2 separate regions of the Homo sapiens genome follow, and region 1 is linked to region 2. Evidence: promoter capture Hi-C in human tissues and cell types (Jung and others, 2019). All regions are on one chromosome and are shown on one strand. Each heading gives the region's core, a stretch centred on a gene start or on the middle of the fragment in contact. The rest is flanking DNA. Distances are from core to core; before and after follow the strand shown.

Region 1 (4,182 bases), core at 1,166-3,665, 740 kb before region 2:
TGTCTCAGGAATACAGCCTTTTTCTTCCTCCCACTCCCTGCTCACCTAGAACACACTGATGGCAACATGTGCTTGTTTCGTCATGAATCCTCTTAAGTTTCTTTATCACAGTTGGGAAAATAACAGGGAAACAATCCCCAGAATAACAAAATAAATGTGAATTACAAATTTTGTTGTTCTTGTTGTTAGAGACAAGGTCTCGCTCTATCACCCAGGCTGGAGTGCAGTGGAACAATCATAGCTCACTGCAGCCTCAAACTCCTGGGCTCAAGTGATCCTCTTGCCTCAGCCTCCCAAGTAGCTGAGACCATAGGTATATGCCACCACACCTAGCTAATTTTTAAAGTTTTTGTAGATACAGGGTATCCCTATGTTGCCCAGGCTGGTCTTGAACACCTGGTCTCAAGTGATCCTCCTGCCTCGGCCTCCCAAAGTGTTGGGATTAGAGGTATGAGCCACTGTGCCCGGCCAAAATAAATGTGAATTTTAATTTTGTTCAGCTTAGTTGTGTATCTCTAGCAAGTAGCTTAAGCTTGCAGAACATAAATTTTGTCATCCATAAAATCTGTCTACACCATATGATTTATAGTTAGCTCCTTTGATGTGGATCAATTGACAAAACATTAATGATGTAAATTATAAAGTGCTATATTAATGTAAGCTATTTATTACTATTTTTATTATGTAGTAGACTTATAGGAGAATATATTTCTGAGGAATATATTTCTTTTATTTAAGTTTCCCCTGTATCGTGTCCAGGAAAGCATTGGGAACCACTGGAGTTCCCGTAGCGCTCAGAGGACCCAGGTGAAACCAATCATTTTCTTTGCTCCAGAGGAGAGAGAGAAAATATTTTTGTATTGCTGGTGAAGTGAATGCAAAAACATTATTTATGCAATATACTAAAGAGTGTATTTTTTTCATCTACAAGGAAAAGATGACCCCAATTTCCAAATGTATAAAGTGGTAGAAATCCTTTCACAACACAGAAGAACCAAAGTCATCAAAAATTTTCATTATGAACCAGAGCTTTTTCCTACTGTACTGAGTTTTACAAGGAGTTCAGCAGATTGCTTAATGTTAAGAGTAGAGAGTCTTAAAACATGTTTGGATCTAAGGCTACAGATAGAAGGCAGAAACAAATGTTTGGAAACCTAAGTGAAATAAAGGGGGAAGAACAGGTTTGAGGATTAGGCCATTGCCACCCATGCTTCTTTGGCCTGTTTATTTTAGGATGAGGCCTGTCTATTCTTGATTCTATGAGGGGATTCTATTTCATTTCATTTTCCAATCATAGGCTGCTTAACACCACTTAAGCCAATAACTCTCTAGATCTTACCCCATGGGTCCAACTTCTGGTAAAGTCCATACATGCCACTCTTCTGTTAGGCCTTAGGTCATTTTAGCTATTTCAAAGGCCAGAGAGTTTACAAATGTGGGATAAGTCATTTGTTATTCAAGGATTGCTTGTCATTTACAAGAGGAAAAGAAAGAAGTCTCAAAAACAGTTGATTTGGTCATGGAATATGGGTGGAAAATTTTGATGCAGACACAGTCATAGACTGAAGAAAATTCCAATGTTTTTTATGCTATTTCTCCTTTCTTCATGTTCCTATATTCTAGTGAAAGGACTAAGAGGAATCTTGGTTCAAAAAGTAAAGGGGTACTGCTCTTGGGTGACAGGGAACTGTCATTTGGTATTAAAACTCTTCTTCTTGTGCTTAATTAATCAAACAGGTATTTCTCAAGTGAGTATTACATTTCGGGCACTACATTAAGTGCTGGGCATAGAAGGAAAAGCAAAGAGAAGACACGAGACACTGAAGAAATACCATTCGAGATAGGCATGGGCATCAGGCAGTTCAGAAGCAATCTCTAACAAGGTCAGCAGAAAGTTGAAAGTAAGAAAACAAGATTTTGCCTGCGCTTCCCTGCAGCAACAGCTGTGGCTTCTTGCAAAGCAATTAAGCCTGTGGCTAGGATTCCAGTCCCATCTCATCTCAGCAGCCTCGCAGCCTTGGAACTTTCTTGATGGAGACTCTTAATCGATGGCATTTCTTTGTTTTTGCCCTGGCATCTCAGATGGTGGCATTCCCGAGGCTGATTAGCTCCAAGTTCCTTCCCTGTGAAGCCAAAGCCACCATGTAATTTCCATTAGACCTGAAAATGATCCTGATTTAAAGCTTAGATGGAGCCCATAAGCCATCATCTAATCATACTTAAAAAGTTACTGGCCTGGGCTGTATGTTCTTCATTTCTTTAGTAGTAAAATCATTCTTAAAAATATATCACTCTTTGTGAACCATCAAATCAGCCTGATGACAGCCTAGTTTAGAATTGAGTGCTGCAGTAAATGTCAGAACTCTGATGCTGACTTTCTGTGTGACTTTGGGTAAGCTACTTAACTTTCCTTCTTTTATTTCTTTCTCCTGTTCTTTCAGTACCTTTGATATGCCAGGCTTTAAAACTAGACTTGGAGGTAGGGAGGTAAAGGTAGGTGGGTGAGGAGGGGAAGAGCCTACGAAGATAAAGGAAACCTGACCCCTGCTCTGGAGAGAAGCACAGTTTGAGGAAATAGCCTTGAAAAGCAAATAATTAGCACCCCACCGGACAGCACTGCCACTGAGGAGTATGCCAAATGTCGTGGGAGCACACAGGAAAGAGACTCATTCCTTTCAGAAGATTGTGTAGGGGAATTTGACAATGCATCCCAGAGGTCCTTAACAATGAGCTGAATTGTAAGGAATTAAGAGGAATTTCCTGAGTGGAGAAGGGGGAAAGACACTCCTAGTTGTTTTATCCTCAAAAAAAGATAATAATTTTGAATCCTGCTTAGCTCTCAAAAATATTTTGAGAGCAGATACATAAAACACAACAAACTTGGTAGCCCAGCTCCATGACTATCAAAGCTCTCCAGCTCAATGGAAGAATGGTGCTACATTAGACTTATAACTTTTTTATTGTCGTTGTTTTTTTTTTAAGTTAGGGCCTCACTCTGTTGCCTGGGCTGGAGTGTAGTGGCACAATCGTGACTCACTGCAGCCTTGAACTTGGGCTCAAGGGATCCTTCTCACCTTAGCCTCCTGAGTGGCTGGGACTACAGGCATGTGCCACCATTCCTGGCTATTTTTTATTTTTATTTTTTGTAGAGATGGGGTCTTGCTGAGGCTGGTCTCGAACTCCTGGGTGTAAGTGATCCTCCTGCCTCAGCCTCCAAAACTGCTGGGATTACAGGAGTGAGCCACTTGCTCCTGGCCTTCTGATGCCTCCTTTGTCCTGCACCAGGGAATGCCTGTCAGTTTTCTTCCCTTGGCAAATGAGAGGAGAGGACCTGCTTATGGCCTGCTTCTTTATCCTCTCCTGGTTTGTGCTGATGCTGGGCTGATACAGCTGTGACAATGATGCCTCTCAGAGCTGCTGTGGAAGAGGATAGTGCAGCGTCTGAGGAGTGAGCGTCACCTTCCCAGGAGCAAGGCTTCAAATTTCCTTCTCCGACCCATTAGAGAGGGAGGTCTTTCTTACACAGCTTCTTAGGAGGAGCAAGAGCAAACTCAGCCACTCAGCTCTCCACATCTGTCCCAGTAAGGGTCCCCTACAACTCCCTTGTGTTCATAACCACCATGACTCTGGTTGCTTCTACATGGGTATAGCTCCCCTAAGGATGAAGGAATATGTGTAGTGACAAAAGAACATGCAGACATTTCTAAAGATGTCTAAAGCCTCGGGGTTATAGGGATTTAGTGTCTAATCAGTCAGTAATAAAGAGGACAAATATCAGGTGTGTCACCAAGTCCTGCCTCAGTGTTCCAAGTTATTATGCCAGACACTGGGGTTCCTATGGGAAGTCCTGGATGCAAAAAACAGGAACTGGCCATGTCGTTTCCCATGCCATGTGAAGTGTCTGGACCTCTGTTGCCTTGTCCAGGACAGTGTGGAGGGGAGGACTTAGCTTGTATGGTTCTTCAGAGCCCTGCCAGATCCTAGAGCCCTTGATGCTTGAGCCTCCCATTTATGGGAGACTCAAATCAGGAGAAGGCTACGTTTATTACAAGGGGATGGGGATCTGAAAAACTGATTTAATAGAATAGGAGTATAAGAAAGCATTATATGTATATATAAGAAAGGTGCTACATTTTAATACACCGTATTTGTGAGCACTAGCTTGTGTTTGTGAGTGCTTTA
Region 2 (4,620 bases), core at 2,121-4,620:
AGTTAAACATTAAAATCTGACCCTAGAGTTGTCTAAAGATCGCGGAATTTTGAAGCTCCGGCAGAGCGGACTAAAAAACGGTGCTATGAGAGATGGTGAGAATACTCTAGGCATGAACGTGTGCGTGTGTGTTTGTGTGTGTGTGTGTGTTTCATTCTTCCCGCAAAACAATTTTTTGTTTTTTTCCTATTCCCGGTTTGTTATCGGCCTAGGGCGGGAGAACCACGCAGCGGCTTCTGGGCCCTAAGGACAAAAGAGTTAAAACAATGAGGCTCACCCGGGAAGAGACGCTGCCCTGGGCACAATAGGGTCGCCTGCATTACTCCTCCATACACACATCTTTAAATGTGTCCCTGTGTGTGTTCGTTAGGGTGCTGTATTACAGAAAAAGAAAGGCCTAAAAACACCCCCAGCCCTGGTCGCGCCTTTCGCTACCGCCTGAGTCTGGAGCCGACAGCTCCACCTCTTCTGCTCCCTGGACCGCCGCGTCTCCACGCCACGGCGCCCTTTTTACTAAAAGATCTTTTCTCATCCTATCAGCAAATCGTTAAGAAAGGCTTAGCCATTGCGGGGGCTCCAACTTAAGGATTCCCCCGGCCCACTAAAAGGCTAGGCCCGGCCTGTAGCCCAGCTCCGCAGAAAGCCAGAGGGTGCTGGGCTTTCAGCTTCTTCCTCCTAGACACTTGCCCCACAAATATATTTCGTTTTCTCTAATCCAAATACCCATCTTTTTCTTTTTTAAAAAATGATAACGTAATGGGAAATGACCAACCGAACTCTGTTACATAAAGTTAGTTCTGTTAGATCTTCCACCCCACCCCCATCCCGCGGGAGCGAGTAAATAGAATTCATGAGCTTAGCTCCCCAGGTTCACGCTCTGGAATGGTTTCTTTTTGCCTCATTCCCTAAGTTTTCTCTCTTCTGCCTCCTGAATGGAGCTCAGGCTAAGGAGAACGGCAGAAAGAGCAAACTCTGATCTGAATCTCTAATTATGACCCCATGTATTACCCATTTGAACATAAGGCCCTAGACGGGCTCCGTGCGATCTGGGGCCTCCCAAGAGAAAACTTCCCCGGGACAGGACGTCTGCCACGCGCAGCTAAACAACTTCTGTTTTTTCCGCCGTGGGGAAAATAAAAGAACCTTACAAATTCTAAGGCGTCATAACCCCTGCAAGAACTTCTAACTGTATGAAGGCCCACGCGAGATTTTGACAATAGATAAATGAGCTGAGGAAATAGGGTCTGGCCAGCGAAGGGAAACACACAGTAGCCCTGGGTGCCTTTCTGGAATGCCCACGCAGGGGTCCGCGTGGACAAGCACTTGCATTCAAATACAGGAAAAGGCTTGGACGGTCGAAATAAATCTCCTTTTAATTTTCTTTTCATCGACTAATAAAAATAATTCCCCAGCACTAAACTCAAATACCGTAACGGGCCACAAAAACACGGAGAATTCATAAAACTCTATCTCTGCAGGTCACCCGCTAATCGCATTATTATTAGCCTCGGGAGCATGGAAATTGAACTGTCACTGCCTAAAGAGAAAATGTAAGCGACAGCTGTCCCTCCTCTGAGTTGGACAGCTTTGTGGCTGAGATCCCCAAGCTCCTGAGCCCCAGACCGTCTCTATCCCAGTGCAGGCCGCTGCCCCCTCCCCGGGCTTGTCAGCGTGTGAAGCGGGGTCTACTCCCCAGCTCTGGCTGTTCAGCAGGAGCACCTTCCAGCATGGTTTTAGAAGTCCGGGCTGGAAAGCTTCTGAAACCGCTAAACCAAGTTGCGAGCGTTGTATGTGCGCGCGCGCACACTCAAGATTCTTCCGACAACAGCTGTTCCCCCGGGCTGTTTTTGCACAGTTGAAATCTTGGCACTTAACACAAAACGTTAAAGTTGGCTTCTCCCCTCCTAGGGTTCTGTTAAAATACAGACATGACATCCCCCCTGCTTTTTACATGTTCCGTGCACATAATATACATGGGTTACTGTAGGATCTGAGACACAAATCAATCGTACCCACACCCTAAATACACAGAGATGTGGGCCCTGAAGAGTGACCCAAGGAGTAAGGGGTCTAACATCCATTCTTGTTTCCGTAAACGCCAAAGGAGTAGAAATATAATTATGTTCCACCATCGAAAAGTTGGTGGGAGAAAGGCAAGGACGAGGTTGAAGGCTAAATGAGACAACTGGTCATTCCCCGAAGACTGAGGTATTGGATTGGAGAACGCCGCGCCAGTCCTCCCGAGTTCTCAGAAGCGAGTCCTAGATCTCGGCTCCCGCCGTTGCCTTCGGCCCGCGCCCCTCCCAATCCCAGGGACCGGCAGCCCTTCATCCACGGACACCCAGAAAGCTGCGCTCTCCACCCAAAAGAAAAAGAAATGCAAACAAACAGGACTCCTTGCTTAGGCTGGCGACGAAAATGCAAGGCTCAGTCCAGCCCCAAAAATTGGTTCCGGTGAATTTAGGGAGGCTCAGGGCATTTGCGCGAAGAAACAGAAACCTATGTTGGGGCAAGGCAGGGCGTCAATGGCAGGGCCTAGCTCCTCACCCGCGACCGGCGACTGGCCCTTCGGCGTCCCCTCTCCGCCCGCCTCCCGCGGTCGGCTGCGACGCACTCACCCGGGTGAGGCTCCAGGCCGTGTGCCGCCGCGTCCTCCGTGTCTCCGAGTGGGCCCGCGGGGCTCAGCGCCTCCATAGACAGGTCCAGCCCCTTCTCCTCCCAGTCTCGCAGTTTCCGTTTTTTATTTGAGCCGATCAAGGCTTCAACGGAGAAGGCATGTGCTCGCGAGCTCAGGGCGACTGCAGATCTTCTCCTTTCACTCATTTTAGCCGCCCACACCCCTGCCTCCGCTTGCCCCCGCTACCGAGGGAGCAGCCGGCGCCCTCAAGCTCTGAGCGCCCACCGGGCCCGGCCCGGGAGAGGCGGAGGCGCGTCGGACGAGGCTGAGACTGCGGCTCGCGGGTCTCTCCACCCTCCCCCTGCGTCCTCCTCCGCCCTCCTCTGCCGGATCCGACCTGCGCCCCTACGCTGGCCCAGCTGCTAGGAACTAGCGCCCCGAGCGCCGCCCGCTCGCTGCATGAGCGCCCGAGTCCTGCTTCCCACCCACCGGGGCAGGCGCTCACAGACTGTGTCCACTGAACTTCATCTTGTTTTTGTTATTATTATTATTCTCTCTCCTCTCTCTCTCTCTCTCTCTCTCCCCTCCCTCTCTTTTTCTCTCCTCCCCCTCTCTCTCTCTTCCTCTCTGCCTTCCCGTCCTCCCTGTGATCCAAACTTCTGGGAAACTTTTTTTTCCGCTAAATTCCTCCCTTCCCGAGGAACAGGGGGCAGGCGGTGCGCTCCTGTCCGAGGGGTGAGGGAGAGGGAGGGGGAGGAAGAAAAAGACTGAGGGGGAAAAAAGCCAGCCCCCAACCAATAGCGAGGAGGGAACAAGAGAAACTCCGAGAGCGCGAACCAATGAGAGGAAGGGAGAGACTGAGGCCCGGGCCAAAGCGCAGCGCCAGTCGTCCCCTGGATGCTCCTGGGCCGACTTTAACCCCTGGCTTCCCGGTTTCCCCATGGGTTACTCCAAGAGGGAGGTAGGACAGTTGAAAGTTGAGGTCTGATCTGCGCCTTTACAAACTCCTGCAAATCCCAAATCCATACGTTTTTCTTCCAGATCTGCTGGTCTCATAGACGCTGCAAGTCCAGAGTCACTTTAGTTGCAGATCTGGAATTTTGGGGCTCTGACAAAATGTTAACCTGTCCAAAATGCCAGAAAACGATTCTGATAATTTCGCGTCAGCCCCTAGGTGCTTTAGAATATTCTGGTTCCTCCTGGATTTCGCCACACAGGTTTTAATGTTCCTACTGAACGTTTTCTAAGCAAATCTGGGTAAGGCAAAAGGAAACAAACAAACAAGCAAACAGAAAGCCCTGTTACTAACCAGGGTCTTGTAACTGAAAATTCAAAGACCGCTTCCTCCTTCCAGCTCTACCTGGTGGAGAAGGAGACACAGGCGCCTTGAGAGCAAGGGGCGGGCGGCGGAGCGCGGGGTTTAGGGCGAGCTCCTCAGGCGTATTCCAGCTGGGCCCCCTCACGCCGCAAATACTCTCTTTCCCTACGGCCCGAACGCTGGGCTGCGCTTCGCCTGTTCCGGGCTCTTGTTGCAGAGAACCTATGGAGAGGTGACAGGCAAGAACAGCTAGGAACTTTAACAGAAGAGAAGGAGCTTTTTCAAAATTCCCTGCAAATCCCGTTACCTCAAGACCATGGCTTTCCCGGCCAGCTGATCTCCCCCCTGGCCGCCCCCTGCCTTTTGCGATCTCTAAGGACTGCATTCAACATGGATTTCTAAGGAATTAAAAAATCCAACGCTCCTGGCCATTCTTAATTCCCACACCTCTTCCCAAGTTACGCCACCGGTCGAGGACGGCAGGAGACCCCCGAGTGCAGAGAAAGCTCAAACCGGCAGCGAAGTCGGTCCTAGCCAAGCTGAAAAAACGTCTCGGATTTCGCGGACAGCGGCCTAGACACAGCCCGATCTTCCAGTCCTAGTGCCCTGGTCGAGACGGTTCTATCCTTTTGCAAAGAAGCCGGAAAGAGCTGGGTCCCGGGGGCGGGGGACAGACTGAGAGGCC

Evidence for each region. The method cuts DNA at HindIII sites, captures the fragments that hold promoters and counts their contacts. A contact is called where the count stands out against the background at its distance.
Region 1: a fragment that was not itself captured here is called in contact with the fragment with the promoter of TBX15 in region 2 in 2 of the 25 tissues and cell types used here (H1 embryonic stem cells and mesendoderm cells).

Annotation. Positions count from the first base shown.
Region 1 is chr1:118,247,861-118,252,042 of GRCh38, forward strand. No RefSeq gene overlaps it. Among named protein-coding and RNA genes, the nearest start is that of SPAG17, 65 kb to the left of the region's middle. The HindIII fragment of the contact is 5,287 bases long and covers 1-4,182 here.
Region 2 is chr1:118,984,973-118,989,592 of GRCh38, forward strand. TBX15 (T-box transcription factor 15) reads right to left here and starts at 3,371. Exons shown (of 8, transcript NM_001330677.2): 1 at 2,619-3,371. The coding sequence starts at 2,823. RefSeq lists enhancers at 241-918, 2,238-2,771, 2,772-3,304. The HindIII fragment of the contact is 7,773 bases long and covers 1-4,620 here.